Regions from separate parts of the Homo sapiens genome. Here region 2 is linked to region 1. Evidence: promoter capture Hi-C in human tissues and cell types (Jung and others, 2019). All regions are on one chromosome and are shown on one strand. The core of a region is centred on a gene start or on the middle of the fragment in contact, and the rest is flanking DNA. Distances in the headings are between cores, read along the strand shown.

The links. The method cuts DNA at HindIII sites, captures the fragments that hold promoters and counts their contacts. A contact is called where the count stands out against the background at its distance.
Region 2: a contact is called between a fragment that was not itself captured here and the fragment with the promoter of KIF13B in region 1, in 2 of the 25 tissues and cell types used here (aorta and spleen).

Annotation. Positions count from the first base shown.
Region 1 is chr8:29,261,530-29,268,525 of GRCh38, reverse strand. It overlaps KIF13B (kinesin family member 13B), which reads left to right and starts at 5,456. Exons shown (of 40, transcript NM_015254.4): 1 at 5,456-5,546. The coding sequence starts at 5,492. RefSeq lists a silencer at 5,249-6,078. The HindIII fragment of the contact is 11,996 bases long and covers 1-6,996 here.
Region 2 is chr8:28,771,412-28,777,658 of GRCh38, reverse strand. It overlaps INTS9 (integrator complex subunit 9), which reads left to right. Exons shown (of 17, transcript NM_018250.4): 14 at 1,733-1,900. Among named protein-coding and RNA genes, the nearest start is that of EXTL3, 73 kb to the right of the region's middle. RefSeq lists a silencer at 171-240. The HindIII fragment of the contact is 4,801 bases long and covers 1,813-6,247 here.

The sequences.
Region 1 (6,996 bases), core at 4,207-6,706:
AAAAGACACTTTCAAGCTGGGTGTCGTGGCTCATGTCTGTAATCCCAGTACTTTGGGAGGCTTGAGGCAGGTGATTGCTTGAGCCTAGGAATTGGAGACCAGCCTGGGCAACACAGTGAGACAAAAAATACAAAAATTAGCTAGGAGTGGTGATGTATGCCTGTAGTTCCAGCTACTTAGGAGGCTGAGGTTGGAGGCTCATTTGAGCCCAGGAGTTTGAGGCTGCAATGAGCCATGATTGTGCCACTGTACTCCAGCCTGGGCAACAGAGCGAGACCCTGTCTCAAAAACAAAAGACACTTTATCCAGGCTCAAAGAGCACACAGTAGCACAGCGTAGCTGGGGAGGCAGATGAAGGTATGCTTATAATTGGGAAAACTAAGTGCTCTCACAAAGGTAGGTCTCAGGCAAGCAGGGAAATCGTGACACAGCAAGACTCCATCTCAAAAAAAAAAAGATAGGACAAAGTGACTTCTATAGCCTATGAAGGGACCATCAGAAACTACTGAATGGGTAGATCAAAGCCATAAAAAGAAAACTAGAAATCAGTTTAGGAATGAGCAGATTTGCAAAATGTGAGGGCAAAAAATGAGAAACTCCTTATCTGCACAGCTAAAATTCAACAGCTCTATCAAAATGGCTATAGAATCTACACCATAAATACTTGTTGATTTCCTAAGTACTTGCTTTAAGAAACAGGTACAAGGGAATGCCTTATTTACTAGTTCTTTGTTTCTTTTTCCTCTAATAGTTGAAAAGAGAGAAACTGGCCAGGTGCAGTGGATCACACCTGTCATCCCAGTACCCTGGGAAACCGAGGTGGGCGGATCACCTGAGGTGGCGAGTTTGAGACCAGCCTGACCAACATGGCGAAACCCCGTCTCCACTAGAACTACAAAAATTAGCCGGGCATGGTCGTGGGCGCCTGTGATCCCAGCTACTCGGGAGGCTGAGGCAGAAGAATCACTTGAGCCCAGGAGGAGGAGGTTGCAGTGAGCCGAGACTGTGCCACTGCATTCCAGCCTGGGCGACAGGGCGAGACCCTGTCTCGGAAAAAAAAAAAAAAAAGAGAAAAAAGAGAGAGAGAAAAACCAGGACTTTTCTCTCTGTCTTGCTGGAGCCTGTGCTGAACCCTGAATCCTGTTGATAGTTCTCCAATTTCATTTGGTGTTGAAGCCCCTGAAACTCCCAGGCTGCAGGTTGTAACTTGCAATTTGGTCCTCTGTCTCCCGCCTATCAGAGGAACACTTTCCATGGGAAGATATGGGCATTTCTAGTCTTGGGCTCTCTCTCTTTTTTTCTTTTTCTTTTCTTTTCTTTTTTAGAAGACGGAGTCTCACTTTGTCGCCCAGGCTGTAATGCAGTGGCGCGATCTCAGCTCACTGCAAGCTCTGCCTCCCAGGTTCACGCCATTCTCCTGCATCAGTCTCCGGAGTAGCTGGGACTACAGGTGCCCGCCACCACGCCCAGCAAATTTTTTTTGTATTTTTAGTAGAAACGGGGTTTCGCTGTGTTAGCCAGGATGGTCTCCATCTCCTGACCTTGTGATCCACCCGCCTCGGCCTCCCAAAGTGCTGGGATTACAGGCGTGAGCCACCGCGCCTGGCTGGGCTCTCTTTTAAGAATCATCTTCACTGCAAAAGTCAAAGGAGACAGAGTAGTATGAACAGAAGTCAAAAGGGGAAACAGCTCACAGGGGTTCTTCCCTGCAGTCCCTAGGGAGGCTACTGTCCTTTTCCTCTAAATATTTTCAGAACATTTTAAATGGTTTTGAGGACTTTAGAGAAAGTCCTCACTTCTTCTCTATTCTATTCTTCCCTTCCTTGAGGTCCTTAGGGGCTTTCCTCTCTTTTCAGTTTCAGCTTAAGTTTAAACACAATATTTCCATAGAAATGTTCTCTTGTTCTCTTTTTCTGCCTGCTTTGACTCTGTTTAAAAAGCCAGATTCAAGCTAGCACCAGGACGTGCCATTTAAAAATTAAATTTACCTGGTTATAAAAGAGATATAAAGTGACGTATGGAATCTTGGGACATTCCAAATCCTTATTTTTTATAACCTGAATGTAGGGAGGTGGTAATTAGGATGTGTGTTTAAGACAAGAGTACCAACCTGTGGTAACCAGTCTGGGGCCATGGCAAAGGTGACTTCAACACTAAATAAGAGCAAAAGAACAGTAGGGCAAAACAATTTCAATATAAAATCATACCCTTTATGATCTTTTTTAAAAAAAAAAAAAGATAGTGATGGTAGATAGTAATTTTTGTGTGCATTCTTTTTCAAATAATTTACTCGGTGACCTAGCACAATGGCTCACACCTGTAATTCCAACACTTTGGGAGGCTGAGGTGGGAGGATCACTTGAGGTCATGGGTTCAAGACCAGAGTGGGTAACATAGCGAGACACTGTTTCTACAAAAAATTTAAAAATCAGCTGGGCATGGTGGTGCATGCTTGTAGTCCCAGCTACTTGGGAGGCTAAGGTGGGAGGATCGCTTGAGCCTGGGAGGTTGAGGCTGCAGTGAGCTAAGATGGTGCCACTGCACTCCAGCCTGGGCACAGAATGAGACCCTGTCTCAAAAAAATATATACTTGCTAAAATTAAGAAGCTGTCATAGTGTCAAACACTGAGATTGGCAATCCTAATTTGGTTATCCTGATGTTGTTTACTTTATTGGGCTGTGAAAATCAAAGGACCTGCTGCACTAAACCCACTGCTGGTCTAGATGAGACCTCCTGAAGTGCAGAGGCAGTGCCCCTAAGAAAGAAATTTCCTTTTTTAAAAAAGAGGGCCTTCTGGGGTAGCATTTTCTATTTTTAACCTTTTTTGAAATTTTGATAAAAAACACGTAACATAAAACTTACTATTGGCCAGGCACAGTGGCTCACACCTGTAATCCCAGCATTTTGGGGGGGCTGAGGTGGGTGGATCACTTGAGGTCAAGAGTTTGAGACCAGCCTGGCCAACATGGTGAATCCCCATCTCTATTAAAAATATAAAAATTAGCTGTGTGTGATGGTGCACACCTGTAATCCCAGTCACTCTGGAGGCTGAGGCAGGAGAATCACTTGAACCCAGGAGGCAGAGACTGCAGTGAGCAGAGATCATGTCACTCACTGCATTCCAGCCTGGGCGACAGAGCAAGACTCCATCTCAAACAAACAAACAAACAACAACAAAAAGCTTACCATCTTGGCTGGGTGTAATGGCTCACACCTGTAATCCTAGTGCTTTGGGAGGCTGAAGTGAGGAGGATTACTTGAGGCCAAGAGTTCAAGACCAGCCTGGACAACATAGCGAGACTCCATCTCTACCAAAAAATGAAATATAAAAATTAGCTAGGTGTCGTGGTGCGTACCTGTAATTCCATCTAGGTGAGAGGCTGAAGCAGGAAAATCGCTTGAGCCCAGGAGTTTGAGGCTGCAGTGAGCTATGATCACACCACTGCACTCCAGTCTGGGCAAACAGAGCGAGATCCTGTCTCTAAAAAAACCCAAAAAACCTTACTGCCTTAACCACTCTTAAGTGGTTAGGTGGCGTTAAGTACATTTACATTGTTGTGCAACCATCACCACCATTCATTTCCGCAGCTGAAATCTTCCCAAGCCGAATCTCTGCACCCATTGAATACTAACTCCTCATACCCCCTTCTCCTAGCCCTTAGTAACCTCCAGTCTACTTTCTATCTCCATGAATTTGACTACCATGTGTATCTCATATATGTAGAACCATGCAGTGGTTGTTCTTTTGTGTCTGGCTTATTTCACCTAGCATAATGTTTTCAAGGCCCATCATCCATGTTGCAGCATGTTTCAGAATTTCCTTTCTTTTAAAGGTATTTTTAGACCGGACACAGTGGCTTATGCCTGTAATCCCAGCACTTTGGGAGACTGAGGTGGGTGGATCACCTGAGGTCAGGAGTTCGAGACCAGCCTGGTCAACATGGCAAAACTACGTCTCTACTAAAAATATGAAAATTAGCCAGGATTGGTGGCACATGCCTGTAATCCCAGCTACTGTCGAGGTTGAGGCATGAGAGTCGCTTGAAGCCAGGAGGTGGAGGTTGCAGTGAGCCGAGATCATGCCACTGTACTCCAGCCTGGGTGACAGAGCTAGATCCATCTCAAAAAAAAAAAAGTATTTTTATACTTTTTGACAACATTGCTTGTATTGAAGATACTCAATAACAGGATGGTTGGTAAAAGGGCAAGTCTTACCAGCTTTCTGTATTTACTCATCTGTAAAATGGTTCTGAGTTCTATTACTATCATTTAAACACATCTAAGCAGGGGTCACAAACCCACAAGGTCCAGGCGCATGTGTGGTAAAGCCACCTGGAGGGGGGCCGTGGTGAAGTGGAGAGACGGGTCTCTGATAAAGGTGGCTGCTGCTATTTAGTTCCAATCCACTCTGTCCAATATGTAATGTAGGCCCAGTACTGCATGCACAAATCTGATTTCACACTCTGTTACCCAAGCTGGTCTCAAACTCCTGGCCTCAAGCAATCCTCCTGCCTCAGCATCCTAAAATGCTGGGATTCCAGGTGTGAGCCCCTGCACCTGGCCACAAATCTGATTTTTATGTGTTGGCCAACACTGTTGGGCCAAACAGAACATGTTTGCGTGCTGGCTCTGGCACCCAGGCCACCTGTTAGAATGTCTGCCAGGGCTAATAAAAAGCTAATTTTAGTGTGGCCTCATTCATTAATTCATGCAATTAATGTTTATGGGTCTCTACTAAAGGCTAGGTTACACATATGTTAATCTTATTTAAAAATGTACCTATTTTACTAGGTATTAGTATCATATCCACTTTTCATATTAAAGACAAGCCCAGAGCGGTCAAATAACTTGCCCCTGGTCACACAGTGGGAAGCGCTGAGGTGGGCTTTGAACTCAGATGGTTTTCAGAGCCCAAGGTCCTGTCTCAAAGGAGGGGGACTCACAGGACAATGTTAACCCGTGGACCTATGGACACTCCCAGAAAACGTGATTTGCAACTTGTCGTGAAGGACGAGCTCAGCAAACAAGGCCGGACGTCAATCCAGGCAGAGGAAATAACTTGAGCCAGGGATCAAACACTAAGATTGGCAGGAAATGAGCAGGAAGAGGTAGCGGGGTCCCTGACGCCATCTATTCAATTGTTTTTCAGAAGAGGTATCAGCTCTTGAAGGCTTACTTCTCAATACTGGCTGCGAGAGCAAGAATGGTGTGTAATTTACAAAAGCCGTCATTGCTGTAGGTAAGTTGTAGCAAACGACTCGCGCCCGAGCATTCCCGCCCCCGCCTTCGCTGCGGCCCCGCCCACGACGACCCTGGGGAACTACAAGTCCCGCCATACAGCGGGGAGCGCCCGGAGCTCGCGCCGGCCCCGCCCCCAGCCCGGTCCCCACCCCCGGCTCCGCCCCCGGCCCCCTCCCGCCGGGTCAACCCCGAAGAGTCGCCGGTGGCCGCGGCAGACGGAAGCCGAACGAGTTCCTCGGCGGCTGCAGGATGGGGGACTCCAAAGTGAAAGTGGCGGTGCGGATACGACCCATGAACCGGCGAGGTGAGAGCCGAGCCCTCCTGGGCCGCCGGGGCGGAGGCGGCAGGTGCCTGGCGCGCCCTTCCCTCGGCCGCCGTGGGGGGTCCGGCGGCCCCGCCCCTATAGTCAGCGGCGGGGCGCGAGGAGGGGCCCGGGGACCCTGAAACCCGCTCCCGCGCTGAGACGCCCGGCTCCCTCTTCTCCCCTCCCTTCCCCCCTGGCCAGCCCCGTCCCTGGCGCCGTCGGGCCCCTCGTGCCGGCCCCGCTGCCCCTTCCGCCTGCGCCCGCCCCGCCCCTGCGCCCTTTTGCCCTCTCGTCTCCCCCGGAGGTTCCCGAGGGCGCCCTCGGCCCTCGCGCCCAGCCTCGTCCTGGCCCCTCAGCCTCGCTCCTTCCCCGCCAGCTGTCATCGTCGCCCCCGCGCGCGGGTCGCCAGCCCCTGCAGCCCGCCTCGGGACCGCCCGGGACCCCCCGGGACCCCGCGTCTCGCCCGGGTCGCCCAAGCCTGCACCGCCTTGGCCCGCGGCGGGAAGAAGGGCAGGGGGCCAGGCGGGTGCCCCGCGGCGAGTTCCTTCCACCTGGGCGTCCTGAGATTGGGGTCAGGTGGAGGAGATGCCCTTTTCGTTGTTTTTGGACAGTTGAGAAAGTTTTGGTTTTGCCTGAAGTCTCATTCATCATCTCTCAATAAATAGCTAAAGTGCCAAGATTCTTGTGGAATTGTATCTTTCTGACATTCTCTTAACTCTGCAGGGAGTGTAGAGAAGGCAGATAAACCGAGTACATTTAAATAATCTGTAGACCCGGGGAGTGGAGAGAACCCCAAAAGTCAGGGGAGGAGGTGGGCTGGGTCTTGGCTTTGATAGTCAAAGCAGCATGACTGGGTGAGTTGCTTTAAATAAGATAATGTGTTTGAAAACGCTTTATATACAAGGTCCTGTCATTGGGGGTCACTATTACTGTCTCAGGAGATGACTTTGCCATTGATGAGACTTTGAACTAATTAGAATCATTTAAGTACCAGAGACAAAGTTGTAGCTTCTTAGCAAAATCAAGTGTTGTTTAATTTTTATGTAGAAATTATAGGTTGTTTTCCTCTTCTTTGCTTTCTTTTGTATATATTGAGACATACAGATCAACCAGTTGACATAAGCTTTGTTGGTTTGTCCTTCTCGGGGAAATTGGTTTCTCGCTTGGAGTTATCTCATCTATGGGAATTGTTTTGTCCTGTTCCTGCTAGGTCCGATTAAAGCTGTCAGGTGAGTTTTTTTCCCTAAGAACTTAATTACTTTAAGTTCTCAACTAGTGCAAGATTGAGTCCTGCTTTGCTTCACTAATCTCGTGCTCTGACAACACACAATAAACGTCGATACAATTCTGAAAATTTTCAGAAGCATCAGTTTTTAAATATTCAGGTATCTGTATTTCAGTTTACTTCCAGTTTACCATCACAATAATTTAAAGAAAGAAGCCAAATGAA
Region 2 (6,247 bases), core at 2,964-5,463, 490 kb after region 1:
GTGGTCTTTACACCCTGACCGCAGTTTCCATTCTAAAGAAATCAGATGTGGAAGGGAAAGAAAACCATCTGTGTCCGCTTAAAAGCAAACCCTCTCACCCCTGCCAAAAAAAAAAAAAGTCATTCTAGAAACATACTCACTAAGCTGAGACAGTTTAAATGAAACGCGTTACTGGGGCCGTGTCGCACGTGTAGGCTGGTACCACAAACAGTGCTGTCGGGTTTGGGTTTTGTGGCAGTTTTTGGTCATTTGTTTCACTTCACATTTTCTGCCCTGGAGAAAGGGAAGAAGTAGCTGGGGTGCAGTGTAGACCAGGAGGCGCGCGTAGCAGGAAGGCAGGGCCACGGAACCACTGTGCTGGCTCAGCCACTGCTCGCTGGGTTTCTGGCTCTTGAGAGTCGGGAGAGGAACTGGAATTGGCAAGGAGGACAGCTGACACCGGCGAGGAAGAGCTCTCCCTTTCCACTCCCTGGTGTTCCCAGGAGTGAGATGAGGGTGGAGGGGCCCAGCACAGCACCTTCAACCTCAGGATGAGAGAGGCCCTTTCACAAAACTCTAAGGCAGGGGAACAGGAAACAGAGAAAGCCGGAGAACCCCAGGAGGGCCCCAAGAGCGGATTCTGGTGATTATTAATGTGCTTGCCCAATGAAGAAAGAATACTGGCACTCTCTAGGTATGATGAGAGCAGACAGCAAACGTGGGGCCTGTCTACAGTGATTCGCTACCCCAATGTATGCTCATCCACGTTAGAAGCAGCAGTGAAAGGCGTGTTGCTTTTCATTATTAACTTCAAATCCCAGTCCCTAAACCAGCTCTTGACGCCCCTCTGTCAGGTGCTAATCCTGGAAACTGGAGGCCACCTGGTCTCCACTTTAGGTGAGGAAAACCTGGGAGAAGCCATCAGACTGCACCTGTGGCATGAGATGCTTTGAGACAGGTCAAGAGGAGGAGCAAAGGGCAGTTTGGAGGAGAAAAGTATTAGCCCTAAGGAACAAGTGCTTTTGGAAGCTCAGCCCGGTCAGCCTGGTGGAAAGCCGTCTTCAGCAGGGAATTCAGGGCTTGGTCCAAGCTCTTAAGTAGAAGCAGGGACAACACAGTGCCCCTGTGGGCTGCCAGCATTCCTTTTCATTTGGGTGATATTTGTGCAAAGTAAAAATTGGTTTACTAATCTTTTTTTCTCAAGATAACAAAAAGAGACATTTTGTTTAAAAAAAAAAACAAAAAAAAAAAACTCTGCCTCTGCTCCTTGGTTGCACATGGTGAGCACATGAGCTGAGGAGTGCCCACTGCCTAATACCAGCTGACCTGCAGATCCAGCGGAAACTCCAAACCCACAGCGCCAGCCCGGCACGAAAAGCCACAGCTCTTGGTAATCAGCCAAGAGCTTATAATAGCAGGCATGTGGGAATGTTAGAGAAAGACCGTGCCCCGAGGAAGCCCAGAGACCGCTGGGAGCAGACACATGGAAGTTACCGTGAAACTTATGTAAAGAGTAAGAAAGATAAATTAAGCTGAGGCAGTTTAGGGGTTTCCGAGATGTTTCTTCTGCCCCAGTGCCTTCACGTTCCCTCTCCTGTCTACGGTTCATTGGGCTTGAGAGGATGAAAGTTCACCTTGGCCTGGAAGTGGTGAGCCTGTAATGGCGGGGAGTGGATCGGGGTCAGGAATGGGCCTTCCACAGGGGCCACTGTACTTCACACCACCTTTCTCAACTGTCCCATTGGTTCCTCAGCCCCTGCACGTGGTGTGTCCTGAGCAGTACACTCAGCCGCCCCCAGCCCAGTCCCACAGGATGGACCTCATGATCGACTGCCAGCCCCCCGCCATGTCCTATCGGCGGGCTGAGGTTCTCGCCCTGCCCTTCAAACGTCGGTACGAGAAGATCGAGATCATGCCAGAGGTGAGCTGTTCTCCTTCCTAGGGTTAAACTAGAGCTTTCCACAGAGGCTCTTGGAGATCGTGCAGGGGTGGCCTTCTTTTGGATTTATGTCAAGTATAAATGAACCAGGCTGCGCGCAGTAGCTCACGCCTATAATCCCAGCACTTTGGGCGGCCAAGGTGGGCGGATCACTTGAGGTCAGGAGTTCGAGACCAGCCTGGCCAACCCAGCCCAGCCAATATGGCAAAACCCCATCTCTACTAAAAATACAAAAAAAGTAGCCAGGTGTGGTGGCACGCATCTGTAATCCCAGCTACTCGTGAGGCTGAAGCCTGAGAATCGCTTGAACCAGGAGGTGGAGGTTGCAGTGAGCCGAGATCACACCACTGCACTCCAGCCTGGGCAACAGAGTGAGACTCCAAGTATGAATGAACAAAGAACATGGACCCTTAACCAAGTAACCGGGAAGAGGGGGGATTTTCAGGGCCTTCTTGTTTTTCAACTAATAAAATAACAGCTGTTAGTCAGGACTGCTCCTTACCTAGCATTCAGCAGCGTGAGCCCTGGGCCACATCATGGGTCAGAGCCCTGGGAAGTGGAGATGCTGACACCCGCTCTGTCCCTAAATACCATAGGATGGTGACTTTTCTCTTCCTTCCTGGACCTCAGTTATGAGTGAGTGTCAAGAGTTTGCTGAATTCAGAGGTAGATGGGGGAGATAACAGGAACCAAAAAATAAGGATTGTAAACTTGGTTATTTATATCCTCTTGAGCATACTTGCAGGTTTTGGTCTATCAAAGTCTAAGTATTTTATAGGTCTGTGAACTCTTAGCTTCAGTTTTAGCAGGGAAAGAGCCAAAGCATGCTGTCCATGTTGAACAGCTGTGGCATGCTGCGCTTGGGCCACTCCTCTGAGAGGGAGACAGAGAGGGACGCGGCCTCTCCTGAAAGACAGCGTTGAGGATGGTTGGAGGCTACCTCTGGCTTCCTTTCACCTCTTGAGGCAACTTGAATGTGTTTTCAACAGACAGGAAAAAGAAATATAAAAACTTATTGTTAAAACCAGTGTGCCCAAACTTCTTTTGGAGTCTGAGGTTCAGAAATGGCCTCCAGACCTTGGGTTGGAGGTCTTGGCTCCTGAATGTGACTCATTTCCATGAGCCTGGAGAGGCTGCTAGGGACCACCAGGTGCCATCTTTATGGTTGTTTAATGTTTAATATGTTTTTATCATTTTGTTATGATTTTTTCACTTTCTCTGGATTGTTTTTGTCTGGTATTTTACAGGGGCTGGGATTGACGGCCTTGGTTTAGATTTCAACTCTCTAAGCCAGCATTCCTTAAACCTTTTGGTCTCAGACATCCTTACAAATAGAACTCCAAAGAGGTTTTGTTTATGTGGGTTATGTCTATTGATGTTTGCTATATGAGAAATTAAAACTAAGACATTTTAAAAATATTCACTTAATAATACAAACCTATTATATGTTAACATAACTAAGGGATAAAGACAAAAGCAAAAATCAGTCCCAGTGCCAGGGATAAATGTTAAGATTTTGATGTATTTGCCTTGTCTGTTCACTGTGTGTGTGCCTACTGGAATCACACCTCATACACTGTCGTCTTTTTCACCTATCAGTAAGTACATTATATCATTTAAGATATTTCAGCCAGGCATGGTAGCTCACTCCTGTAATCCTAGCACTGTGGGAGGCCGAGGCGGGTGGACAATGAGGTCAGGAGTTCAAGACTAGCCTGGCCAAGGTGGTGAAACCCCATCTCCACTAAAAAAAATTAGCTGGGCGTGGTGTCACGCACCTGTAATCCCAGCTACTTGGAGGCTGTGGCAGAGAATTGCTTGAACCGGGAGGCAGAGGTTGCAGTAAGCCAAGATCATGCCACCGCACTCCTACGTGGATGACAGAGCGAGACTCTGTCTCAAAAAATATATATTTCAGCTGGGCATGGTGGCTCATGCCTGTAAACCCCAGCACTTCAGGAGGCTGAGGCGGGGGTGAATCACTTAAGGTCACGAGTTCAAGACCAGCCTGGCCAACATGATGAAACCTTGTCTCTAATAAAAAAACAAAAATTAGCCACAGGCGTGGTGGCAGGCGCCTGTAATCGCAGCTACTCGGGAGGCTGAGGTTGCAGTGAGCCAAAATCGCGCCACTGCACTCCAGCTTGGGCAACATAGCGAGACTCCGTCTCAAGAAAAAAAAAAAAGATATTTCAAAAGCTTCAGCTTTAATGGTTGCATAATGGTCTGTCATAATTTAACAGTTCCTTTTTTCATAGATTTTTTTTTTTTTTTTTTGAGACGGAGTCTCGCTCTGTCACCCAAGCTGGAGTGCATTGGCGCGATCTTGGCTCACTGCAAGCTCCGCCTCCCAGCTTCATGCCATTCTCCTGCCTCAGCCTCCCTAGTAGCTGGGACCACAGGCACCCGCCACCATGCCCAGCTAATTTTTTTGTATTTTTAGTAGAGACGGGGTTTCATCGTGTTAGCCAGGATGGTCTCAATCTCCTGACCTTGTGATCCACCCGCCTTGGCCTCCCAGAGTGCTGGGATTACAGGCGTGAGCCACTGCGCCTGGCCCCTTTTTTCACAGATTTTCATTTCTGGTTTTTCTGTGTTATAAATAACACTTTTAGGAGCATCCTTTTACATAAATCTTTGTCCATATATGTTTATTTCCATAAGAAAATTTTCTGAAGTTAGAATTTCTGGGTCAAAGATTATGAACATCCCTTTCTGGCTCGAGGCTATATATTGCCAGCTTGTCCTCTAGAATGAGTGTGACAGTTTATACTCCCACAGCAGAGCTGGAGACAGCTCTTACTTCTGCCTCCTTGCTAATATTGAATGTTGTCCTTTTTTAGTTATTTTCCAATTTTATTCAAGTCTTTTCCAGTTATATAAGTATACACTGTTATCTAATTTTAAATTGTATGTCTTTTTTTTTCTTTTTTTGAGACGGAGTCTCGCTGTGTTGCCCAGGCTGAAGTGCAGTGGTGAGATCTCTGCTCACTGCAAGCTCCACCTCCTGAGTTCACGCCATTCTCCTGCCTCAGCCTCCCGAGTATCTGGGACTACAGGCACCTGCCACCACACCTGGATAATTTATTGTATTTTTAGTAGAGACAGGGTTTCACTGTGTTAGCCAGGATGGTCTTGATCTCCTGACCTTGTGATCTACCCACCTCGGCCTCCCAAGTCCTGGGATTACAGGCGTGAACCACCGTGCCCGGCCCTATGTCTTTTTTTGAGACGGAGTCTTGCCGTGTTGCCCAGGCTGGAGTGTAGTGGCACAGTCTTGGCTCACTGCAACCTCTGCCTCCCGGGTGCATGCAGTTCTCCTCCCTAGGCTCTCGAGTAGCTGGGATTATAGGCACATGCCACCAATCCTAGCTAATTTTTGTATTTTTGGTAGAGATGGGGTTTCACCATATTGGCCAGGCTGGTCTCAAACTCCAGTCTGCCCACCGTGGCCTCCCAAAGTGCTGGAATTACAGGCGTGAGCCACCGCACCCAGCCAAACTGTACGTCTTTGATCATTAATGGAGGTAACTGTCTCAATCCAACTTGCTACAGTAATTGCCTTTAAAATGGACATTATGGCCAGGCACATTGGCTCAGGCCTGTAATCCCAGCCCTTGGGAGGCCAAGGCAGGAGGATCACTTGATGCCAGGAGTTCAAGACCAGCCTGGGCAACACAGCAAGACCCCCGTATCTACAAAAAAATAATAAATTAGCCAGGCGTGGTGGTTCATGCCTGTAGTCCCAGCTACTGGGGAGGCTGAGGAGGGAACATCACTTGAGCCCAGGAGGTTGAGGTTGCAATGAGCTATGATCACACCACCACACTCCAGCCTGGGCAGCAGAGTGAGGCCCCATCTCAAAAAAAAAAAGACTCCTTCAGAGTCGTCTTGGAAATAGTGCATGGCTGCCCAGGGAGAGCGCAGAACGCCATCCCCAAAGCTCCCACCCCAGCCTTGTGCAGGGAGGAGGGGCCTGTGTGGAGGAGGCCTCAGGTGAAGAACGGGATCTGGCGCACACCCTGCTCCTCGGCAAGGGCCGCTTCACGCTCGCCATAGGCCGTTTTCTTATTTCATGAAACAGGCCTCACGTACCACTTGCCAATCTGCTTAAGTATCCTAAGCTGCTTCCTCTGCCCGTTTGGTATTGATCTTCATGTTTACATAATGGCCTCTTGCATGTTTTTGTTTTTAAATAAAGGTGGCTTGGCTAGGTAGGGGTCTACATGTCTTAAAAACCATGCAGCTAAACCCAGCAACAGAGCACCTAATAAGGTCAGGCTGCACGGCAGGGCACCCATCAGGTGCAGGTGGTCGGAAAGATACCAC